Regions from separate parts of the Homo sapiens genome. Here region 1 is linked to region 2. Evidence: promoter capture Hi-C in 16 types of primary human blood cells and fetal thymus (Javierre and others, 2016). All regions are on one chromosome and are shown on one strand. Each heading gives the region's core, a stretch centred on a gene start or on the middle of the fragment in contact. The rest is flanking DNA. Distances are from core to core; before and after follow the strand shown. Region 1 holds the start of TMCO1 (transmembrane and coiled-coil domains 1). Region 2 holds the start of METTL13 (methyltransferase 13, eEF1A N-terminus and K55).

The links. The method cuts DNA at HindIII sites, captures the fragments that hold promoters and counts their contacts. A CHiCAGO score of 5 or more calls a contact.
Region 1: a contact is called between the fragment with the promoter of TMCO1 here and the fragment with the promoter of METTL13 in region 2, in 2 of 17 cell types (total B cells and naive B cells). The highest score is 7.5, in total B cells.

The regions. Positions count from the first base shown.
Region 1 is chr1:165,766,869-165,772,024 of GRCh38, reverse strand. It overlaps TMCO1 (transmembrane and coiled-coil domains 1), which reads left to right and starts at 3,157. Exons shown (of 7, transcript NM_019026.6): 1 at 3,157-3,343; 2 at 3,756-3,833. The coding sequence starts at 3,274. It overlaps TMCO1-AS1 (TMCO1 antisense RNA 1), which reads right to left and starts at 3,096. Exons shown (of 3, transcript NR_125374.1): 1 at 2,650-3,096. RefSeq lists enhancers at 2,194-2,869, 2,870-3,546. The HindIII fragment of the contact is 3,297 bases long and covers 2,687-5,156 here.
Region 2 is chr1:171,779,398-171,784,758 of GRCh38, reverse strand. METTL13 (methyltransferase 13, eEF1A N-terminus and K55) reads right to left here and starts at 3,099. Exons shown (of 8, transcript NM_015935.5): 1 at 2,639-3,099; 2 at 260-1,019. The coding sequence starts at 2,791. RefSeq lists enhancers at 2,753-3,286, 3,116-3,410. The HindIII fragment of the contact is 1,150 bases long and covers 2,712-3,861 here.

The sequences.
Region 1 (5,156 bases), core at 1,908-4,407, 6.0 Mb after region 2:
ATTCCATCTCAAAAATAAATTAAATAAATAAATAAAAATGAAGCACAGTATTGGCTGGGCATGGTGGCTCATGCCTGTAATCCCAACACTTTGGGAGGCTGAAGCAGGAGGACTGCTTTGAGCCCTGGAGTTCGAGACCGAGCCTGGGCAACAAAGTGAGACCCTGTCTCTAGAAAACAAAACACAACCCCAAAGCAACAACAGTATTATTATTACTAATTCTACTAATAATGTAAGAACAGGCTTAGCTCCCATTCACCTTTCACAGAAAGTTACTTGAAGATGTACCACAACATCAAGTATAAACTAGAAACAAAAATGTGGTTTCAAGAGAATAGTAAAATTAAGTCCCAGGACAAAAGTCTTCCTATTGTACTAGAGATTGGAGGAGGTCAGTGAGCTTTGGGAGAGCAGTCCTCATGGGGAAAGCTTTGAAATCTAAAAATTAGATAGTACAACTAAGAGCTTAGAGAATTTGGGAATATAACAAAGAAAACTAGTAGAATCTAGAAAAGATGTTATCTGAACTTGTCTCTAGCACTGTTCCTTTTTTTTTTTTTTTTTTTTTTTTGAGACCGAGTCTTGCTCTGTCGCCCAGGCTGGAGTGCAGTGGCGCCATCTCGGCTCACTGCAAACTCCGCCTCCCAGGTTCGCGCCATTCTCCTGCCTCAGCCTCCCGAGTAGCTGGGACTACAGGCGCCCACCACCACGACCAGCTAATTTTTTTGTATTTTTAGTAGAGACGGGGTTTCACCGTGTTAACCAGGATGGTCTCAATCTCCTGACCTCGTGATCCGCCCGCCTCAGCCTCCCAAAGTGCTGGGATTGCAGGCGTGAGCCACCGCGCCTGACTTCTAGCACTGTTCTTAAACAAGGGGCATAGTGTCATGACATCATTACCCTAGAAAAGGAAGTGTATCCTAGCAGTCCATGGTTGTAAACATTTACACAGGAATAACTTAACTGCTTATTAATATATTTCATATTTTCTCATTTTTTCATATTTTAACATCTCTGAATGGGATTCTTCTTACAATCAATGGTGTGTCATGGTTTAATTAGTTATTTTTTCCTCTTTAGTAGTAGATAAAATAATGATGCGTCTTACAATGAATAGCATGTTGAATTTGATGAATTGTGTGTGCCAAGCACTGCTTGAAATGCTTTATAATATACTTTTCCTCATCCAGTCTTCATAGCTGATGTTACCACCATTTTGAAGGCTCAAAGATGCTAAACAATAGGTTCTAGGACTGCTGTCAAGTAAGTGGCAGAGCAAGAATTTAAAATCAGGTCTGATTTCCAAGATCATGCTCTTATTGTTATCTCAGCACTTACCTTGGGTGATACAAAGGTGAATAAAAACCTATCCTTGTCTGAACTGCTCAAATAAAGGTCTAGCTCAAATATGATCTTTCTGAAACCTTTCCAACTCCCCAGGAAGAATACATCTTGTTTTCATCTGTACCCCCTCAACATTTTAAGAATACCTCTATAATACCTATAATCTTATTATATTATATAATCTCCCTGGGCCCTTAGAAGTCAGGAATATTCTCTTAACCATCCTTTTGACCCTACAGTGCCTACCACAGTTCTTGACATATAGTAGAAGCTCAATAATGTTTCTTAAAAAGGAGACAGGGTCTCTGTTGCTAAGTCTGGGAGACAAGAAATGCACATAAAGCTAAAAAAAAGTCAAAAGTAGTGTTTAGGAGAATTATATATTTAAGTGCAGTACAGTTTAAAAGAACCAATGAGGGCCGGCCACGGTGGCTCACGCCTGTATTCCCAGCACTTTGGGAGGCCGAAGTGGGTGGATCTGAGGTCAGGAGTTCAAGACCAGCCTGGCCAACATGGCAAAACCCCGTCTCTACTAAAAATACAAAAAATTAGCTGGGCGTGGGGACGGGCACCTGTAGTCCCAGCTACTTGGGAGGCTGAGGCAGGAGAATGGCTTGAACCCGGAGGCAGAGGTTGCAGTGAGCCGAGATTGTGCCATTGCACTCCACCTGGGCAACAAGAGTGAAACTCCATCTCAAACAAACAAAAAAACACCAATGATAGGAGGAAGTACAAGAGGATACAGCTCAGCCAGCTTCCAGGTTTTCACCCATACACACACACACCCCAGTGTGAAAAAGCTGAAACCGTCTACAATGGCTGAAACCACGCTGCTGAGACATTTTTGAATTTTAATTAGTTAGCAACACTTATAAATTAAGTTTCACATAAAACCCAGGATTTCTGGATTTTCCTGAGAAACGAAGACATCTCAGAAACTGGGTGCTCATTCTCCTAGAGAAATGGGTTGGATTTGGGTATCAAATTCTCCTTTCAGATGAACTTAATGCTCACTTATCCATCGTAGTAACTTCCACCATTTGTTTAGGCTCAGCTTGCATAAGATAATTTATTTTCTCTCGCCAGTCTAGGCATCTGGGTTTAAGACCCCTTCTCTAGATACATTACTCACTGCACTATCACACTATGAATTTTCAGGCATCCGTGCTTTGACTTCCACTTTGCCTAGAAAGTCCTTTGCTATCTCCAAAAGTACTCCTACTCCCCTAAGGCACTGCTTCAATTCCTTTCATTAGCTTCTTCTGACCACTCTCTCAACCGTGTCACGCAGCACTGTGGTAATACCTCTATTAAAACCCTTATCAGAGCGTATGCACAAGCTTCTCCTCTTCGCGCTGACGTTCGCTCCTTGAGGCCAGCGGCCCACAACTAACTCATTTCGCGGTTCCAGCTTCACGTCCATGCCCTGGCACCTACACCCAGTCGTTCAGTACCTTTGCGGAAGTCAGTCTTCTTACTTCACGGCAAACCCAAGCTAAACTAATATTACGACCACAGAAGTTGGGCTGAGGTAGAAGTCAAGACTATCCCAATAACTGGATTCTGGCCGAGAAAAAGGCGCGCGCCAGCACCCCAGTCAGTAAAATCTACCGGGCAAAGTTCGCCGCCGCCACTATCCTCCTCTGGCTCTGAAATAGTTCCAATTCTCGCGAGATTCGGCCTGACTACCAGCCCTTCAGCTCCAGTGAGTTGCGGGTTGGTTTCCTCTAGACTCTCGTGGCCACACCGTTCTCCGATACGAGCCTTTCCGGTGCTATGCCCCGGAAGCGGAAGTGCGATCTTCGGGCTGTCAGAGTTGGTCTGTTACTCGGTGGTGGCGGAGTCTACGGAAGCCGTTTTCGCTTCACTTTTCCTGGCTGTAGAGCGCTTTCCCCCTGGCGGGTGAGAGTGCAGAGACGAAGGTGCGAGATGAGCACTATGTTCGCGGACACTCTCCTCATCGTTTTTATCTCTGTGTGCACGGCTCTGCTCGCAGAGGGTGAGAGCGGGTATTTCTCAGACGTTTGATCAGTCCCCGGGAGGAAGGGCCCCGGGGTCCCCTGTGCCACCAGGGGAAAGATCGCGAGCCTTACTTGCTTGAGAGGCTCATCTACTCCACTTCAGGGAATCTCTGGGCAACTCGTGAACAGGAGCAGGAGGGGAGTATGGAGTCGATTGCCGAGTTTTCTTTGGTCTCAGGTAGATTTCACTTGGGTATTTGTGGAGACACCTTCACATCATGTTACTGTTGTTTTGGCTGAAGAGTCAGTTGTATTAGCCTTTGAAAAAAGTTAACTATGGGTAAATACAAAGCGAAAAGTTGGAATTCCTCCTTCTCCAACAGTAACCACTTTGTTTGTTGTGATCATTCCAGTCATTTCTCTATTAACATGTTGCTTTTAATGTTTTAGGCATAACCTGGGTCCTGGTTTACAGGACAGACAAGTACAAGAGACTGAAGGCAGAAGTGGAAAAACAGAGTAAAAAATGTGAGTATGGCAACACATTAGAAATAATTTCAACACGTCAAGCTCATTAAGTCCATGTTCACAATAAATATTTTAAGAGCACCAGCTGATACAAAGATGAACCTGACTTGAAGCCTATTTAGAAATAGAAGACTTTTATGCAAAATGTGTAATACCAACTAGAGGGAAGTGAGGGGCGTAGCAGATACATGTTATGTGCTGTGGTGGTTCTAAAGAAGAGGTTCAATCTGGCGCAGTGGCTTACTCCTGTTAATCCCAGCACTTTGGAAGGCTGAGGCAGGACTGAACTTAGGGGTTTGACACCAGCCTGGGCAACATAGGGAGACCTCGTCCCTACAGAAAAAATTAGCTGGGTATGGTGGTACACACCTATAGTCCCAGCTATTTGGGAGACTGAGGCATGAGGATCCCTTGAGCCCAGGAGATTGAGGCTACAGTGGGCCACGATGGTGTCACTACACTGCCTCCTGGGCAATAGTGAGACTTGTCTTTAAAAAAAAAAGAAGAAGAGGCTTCATTCAGTTGTGAGGAACCATGGTAGCCTTCATGATGCTGATGGCCTTGCAGTTCCTTGTGGATAGTTAGAATTTGGATAGAGAATGAAATGGGGAAAGGAAATTCCAGGTAAAGAAATAACATATGAGCAAAAATATGGAAATCTTAACATTTAAGGCATGTTTGGAGGATGATATGTCATTATGACTGGTGTCAAGGTAAGTGGTGTCTTCAGAGATAAGCCGAGTTTCAGTTGGGTTAGAAAGTTGAAGAGGTGTTTAAGGAAAAGATTAAAAACAAGAAGGGTTTGTTACCTTTGAAATAAAGCAGGAATTCCACAGGACTCAGCTAAAGGTACAGGGTGAATGGTTCCTTATAGGCCTGATTTAGTTTTCTCTCTTCTTTTTTTCCTTATAAGGATTAAATATAACTTTTGTTTCTTAGAATTCCTACAACTTTCTGTATTCTGTGACTTTTTCTTATATCTTCATAGGGGTTTGAAGTTTTTTTTCTTAAATTACCATATTTGATCTACACAGCAACCATTTGTGGTTACTCGTATAAATATTACCTCCATGTCATAGGAAAGAAAATTGAGCCTCAGGATGATAATGACAACTTACGTCACAGAGCAAACAAAGAATTAGAGACCAGACTCAGGCTTTTAAAATTACAGCTTACTGTTCCTTAATTTACTCAGTGTTGATTATGTACCTCAGCATATCTGGGCCAAACTCGTTATCTTTACCTTCACAAACGTGATATTCTTCCAGGATTTCCCTATCTTGGTGATGGGTACCTCCATGCTTCCAGTAGTGTAAGCCAGAA
Region 2 (5,361 bases), core at 1,850-4,349:
TCTCACACTTCATCAAGCCTTTGCAATGGCAGATGAAAAGGAATAGGTCTCAACTCCAAGTAGGTTGCTAGAGAGCTATTACTCTCCTTTCATCATGCCTTGGGTAGTCTAATCCTCTGGAAGTACAAACCCCTGCAAGACAAAAAACAGTCCAGAATCCCACCAAAGCCCCAGCCCAGCCTCAGCCCCAGCCCCAGCCCAAGCCCCAGCCCCTGTAAGCCAGCCCCTCCAGGGAAGAGAGGGAGCAATCCCAACTCACTGATGAAAATCGCAAAATGATTGTCCCGCGATGGTTTCACAGTGGGGCTGTCCACCACGTGGAGGGTGTAGCGTGGCTCCCCCGTGTCCCCATCGCACAAGTCCAGAGACACACTCCCCAGCCTGGCCTTGCGGCGCAGCTGGCTGCACAGCCAGGCATACTGCTGTCGCTCCTGCACCGCCTCGGCCAGCCGCTCGGCACTCTCCAGCCGCACAGGCTTGCGCTGCTCCTGAGCACACAGCTCAAAGATCTGAAGGGCAGAGCCAGGGACTGGCCTGAACTTGGTCATGATGAAGGCAAAGACAGGCAAGGAGAACTGAGGCTCTGCTTCCAACACCTGGTCCTGGCTGTTGGCCACTTGGTGCACCCTCACCATCCACCCCTCCCGGGAGAAGTGGCCCACTGCTTTCTTCAGGATGTGAGCCTGAGCCAGGGAGATGCAGAGATAGCGACCGCCCACCTGCAGGACACGGCCAACCTCAGCCAGCATCCTGTCCACCTGTTGTAAGGTCTTCTCTTCCTCATCTGTCAGGACAGCATCCAGGGTGCCCTTGTCCAACACCACCTGGAACGAGGCATCAGGAAACTCCATCTGCGTCATGTCCATCTTCAAGAAGCTCATCTGGGGCCGTCGGGTGGCATTACATTCCTTCATTTGCTTGATGACAACCTCACTGATGTCGATGTTCACTATATCCCGATAGCCCACATCATACAGTTGCTCACTCAGTTCTGAGTTGCCACACCCAATCACCAGCACCTGGAGAAAAAATTCACAGACAAGAGGGAGGTAATCAAAGCAAAGGACTGTACTTCAGGTACTTCAAGGAATCAAGTCTCACCTTGGCTGAGTCACATTTTCAGAAGGTGGAGACGCTACTGCCAGAGAAAGAGCGACATTGTAGAGTTGATGCTAGACTCTATCTTGAAACACCACATATACTTGCTAGTGAAAACCACATTCAGCTACAATACAGGTTATATGAGAATGGGCTTTGTGTTGCAGAAACAAATTAATCATAACTGTTCTTTTCTCTAAATCATGCACTTATTACTCAGGAATTAATAGGAAGTCAGAGAATCCAAATATAGAGTTACAGTTGAAATCCTAGGCCAGGAATAACCCTATTTCCTCACTCTACTCATGCCTTTGGCTCCTTTAGACAATAAAGTACACTTTGTGAGGATTCAAATCTTACTTCCATCACGGATTCCATCTCATGATATTTGGCTATCTTCTGAAGCCGAACTTAAAATTCAGATTGTTGTCTCCCTCTCCAGGGAGCAATCTCCCATTCAAACTTAGAAATTCTGATATTGCCATCTTTGGAAAAGCATGGTACAAAGAGATGTGCATATGCTCTGGAGCCAGACAGGCCTGAGTTTAAATCCCCACATGACCACCTGGACATGATCTTGGGCAAAAAAAAAAAAAAAAGTGGCTCTCGGGGCCTCAGTTTCCTCATCTGTAAAATGTATGCATGGCCACTCACCTGAATTTATGATGAGAATTCAAAGATTGCACATGCACATACACAGCACCCAACATAAGGCTTGGCACATAAAGCTTCCCCACAAATGTTAAGTTTTCTACCTTCCTCCTTCCCTACCTCCAGTACAATCTCACCTATACCAAACCCATTGTTGTACTTATCACGTTTCACTTCTGGAACATGTGCAGGGTTTACGTCTTAATGCTCTTATAGTTTAAGGACTGAGCAGTGCCTGAAACTTGGGGCGCACTCAACGACTATTTGAAAAACAAATTCATACACAAAGTCACACCTGCTGCAGGTTGCACAGGAATGCACAGTGACAGAAGAACATACTTTCAAGATGGGAAGTCACTCTTCAAGTAGGGTTATTAATCCAAGAATGAGCTGGGGTGGGAGGTCTATTATCTGAAAACCTTTAAAGAAATGTTTTTTTTTTTAGACAGGGTCTCACTCTGTCACCCAGGCTGGAGTGCAGTGGCGTGATCATGGCTCACTGCAGCCTCGACCTCCTGGGCTCAAGCGATCCTCCCGCCTAAGCCTCCCGAGTAGCTGGAAATACAGATGCGCGCCACCACGCCCGGCTAATTTTTTCATTTTTTGTAGAGACGAGGTCTCATGTTCCCCAGGCTGGTCTTTAACTCCAGGGCTCAAGCGATCCTCCCACCTCGGTCTCCCAAAGTGTTCGGATTACAGGTGTGAGCCACTGCGCCCGGCCTGAAAGAATATTCTAGTTTGTCTTTTAGCAGGAACAATGCAGGAAATGCTGAAATATGCGTCCAACTAGGGTCCTCCCGCCTGTCACTGTCCACCAAGTGCAAGATTCCTGTTACCAGTTCCCACCTTCCGGAGCACGTACGAAGGGCTACCAACCCGCGCTCCTCACCTTTTCCCTGGGCTTGATATATTTATGTAGCACCCCGCACAGTTCCAGGTAGGTTCCATACCACTCGAAAGCTTTCTTTCCTCGCTGCTGGAAGAACTTCTCCCAATAGTCAACGGAGCCAAACTCCCTGGAACTTTTAGGTAAGAGGTTCATGTTCCTACTGCCGAAGCTGCGTTTTCAAGACTCCCCTATTCCCTGTGAGATACCATTTGAGGAGCTTGCCCACCACACGCAGGCTCCGGGACACTGCAGTGGGAATTCTTTCCACGGAAAAACAGCCACATTGATTTGTTCCCCCACTCCAAACCCCAGGAATGACCCTTACACGACAAACGCACGCATGGACCACTGAATCTCACACACGCTTGCCCCCTCCTCCGCGCCTGCTGTTCCTTCCCCACGTGAAGAGCCCCTCACACTTTTCCCGAACTAGATTTCCGAGCCCATAACCATATCCGGGTGCGAAGCCTCGTGATTCGTCGGCCGGCCCAGCCCAACTCAGCTAGTCATTGGTCGCTGCTTTGCGTTTCTATCACCTCATTGGCTGCGACGTGCTTGCCTTTCTCCGGAGGCTCCGTCGCAGACACCTAAACGCTTTTTTGACCTGAGGCCGGCCGACCATTCACGGAACGGGGCGGGACCGCGGGCCGGAGTTGTGGCGGAAGAGGCCGGGCCTCTGTGAGAACTAGGTCACGTCCGGGTGAGGAGTGAGCGCGGCTGTGCTGTGGTTGGGCCCTCCCTCCAGGCGGGGCGGAGAGCGCGCTTGCTTCCTGGGCTCGGCCTCCGCTTTGTCTTGGAGCCGGCTTAATCACTGACTCCGATCGTGCGCCGCACAAGGGCGGAGCGCGGCAGGCGGGAGCGTACTGGTAGAGGAGGACGAAAAGAAAAACCTATACAGATAGGAGAGAAGTGAGGCAGGAAATGAGTAAAGCCAGTCCGTCGTAAAAACGCTGCACATTCTAACCTTGTCAGCTTCTGCGCACCAGCACCCCCCGCCTTATTTTGCCACCTCTGCACCAAAATATAGGATTCTGCTATCAAAAGTGTAATAACATGAAAACTCCCTCTTCCTTCTCTCCGCAAAGCACAGCATGCAAAACTAGCCTTTCATTTTGATAATTGGCCTCCTTGTGTTATTCTGACGTTATTTATAACTGCTTATTTTATGTGTTTGATAAACATACTGTACTTTCACATGCTCATGCTAATACCCTGAGGAAGCTTCTGTGAAGGGCACTTTTTTTTCAGACAGGGTCTGTCTCTGTCGCCCAGACTGGAGTGCAGTGGTGCAGTCATGGCTCACTGCAGTCTCCACTTTCCAGGGGTCAGGGGATCCTCCCACCTCAGCCTCCCAAGTAGCACGCCACTACCGCTGGCTAATTTTTTTTTTTTTTTTGTAGAAATGGGGTTTCGCCATGTTGTCCGGGCTGTTCTCAAACTCCTGAGCTCAAATGATCATCTCGCCTCACCCTACCAAAGTGCTGGGATGACTGGTGTGAGCCACTATGCTGGCAGGCACTATTTGAAAATGACCAAATATGTGTATCACTGGGCCTTTCATACCATGATAAATTGCAGGAGGAATATACTGATTGCGGAGAGCAGATAGGCTTGGAATTGAGCATGTGTGCTGTGGGCTGTTACATACTACACTACCACAGGTAGATAGCCAGGTAGACTGTTAATAGTTAAGTAGGTTAGATTGGACTTAAACATTGGTTTAAAAAAGTGATTCTCAAACTGGCATGCGTCAGAATCACCTGGAGGACTTGTTAAAACACAGAATTCCCCAGTCCAACCCCTGTTCTAAGTCATTAGTTCAGTGGTGAGGCCCAAGGATTTGTGTTTCTAACAAGTTCCCACGATGCTGATGATGTTGGTCCCGGAACCACACTTTTTTGAGAACCACTGTTTTAAAATACAATTAAGTCAAAATGGATATGGTTCAAAATTCGCAATTTTCAATGATAAATCTAAAAGCTTTCTACAAGTAACATAAGAGAAAATCTGTTTTCATGATCCCTTTGCTGAGTTCACATTGTTCCTCTCTACCCAAGATAAAGAGAAGGAGTCCTTGAAGTAGTAACTTCAGCTACTACACCATGCAAGGTTCTGAATGGGTGAAATGTGAGTTCTTTAGGAAGCACTTATTGAGAGCGGAGGACATCACTTGTACTGAATGTGCTACACGATACCAAAGAAGCAAAACAGCATAGCAGCCAGGCGCGGTGGCTCACGCCTGTAATCCTACCACTTTGGTAGGCCGAGGCGGGCGGATCACTTGAGATCAGGAGTTTGAGATCAGCCTGGCCAACATGGTGAAACCATGTCTCTAATAAAAATACAAAAATTAGCCGAGCGTGGTTGTGTGTGCCTGTGGTCCCAGCTACTCAGGAGGCTGAGGCAGGAGAATCGCTTGAACCCGGGAGGCGGAGGTTGCAGTGAGCCAAGAGATTGCGCCACCGCACTCCATCCTGGCCAACAGAAGGAGACTCCCTCTCAAAAACGACAACAACAAAAACAAACAAAAACCATAGCAGCTGCTCTGTGCCCCCCAAAGCTTTATTCAATTCAGTTCAACAAATATTTTAATTGTCTAATAGGGGCCAATCACTGTGGTAGAAGCTAAGGATGCAGTGGTAAGCATGGTAATCACGTGGAGGGCACATTAAACAATTACAAAAATAGTCTGTAATGGGAGTTATAAGTGCTGTGAAGGAGAA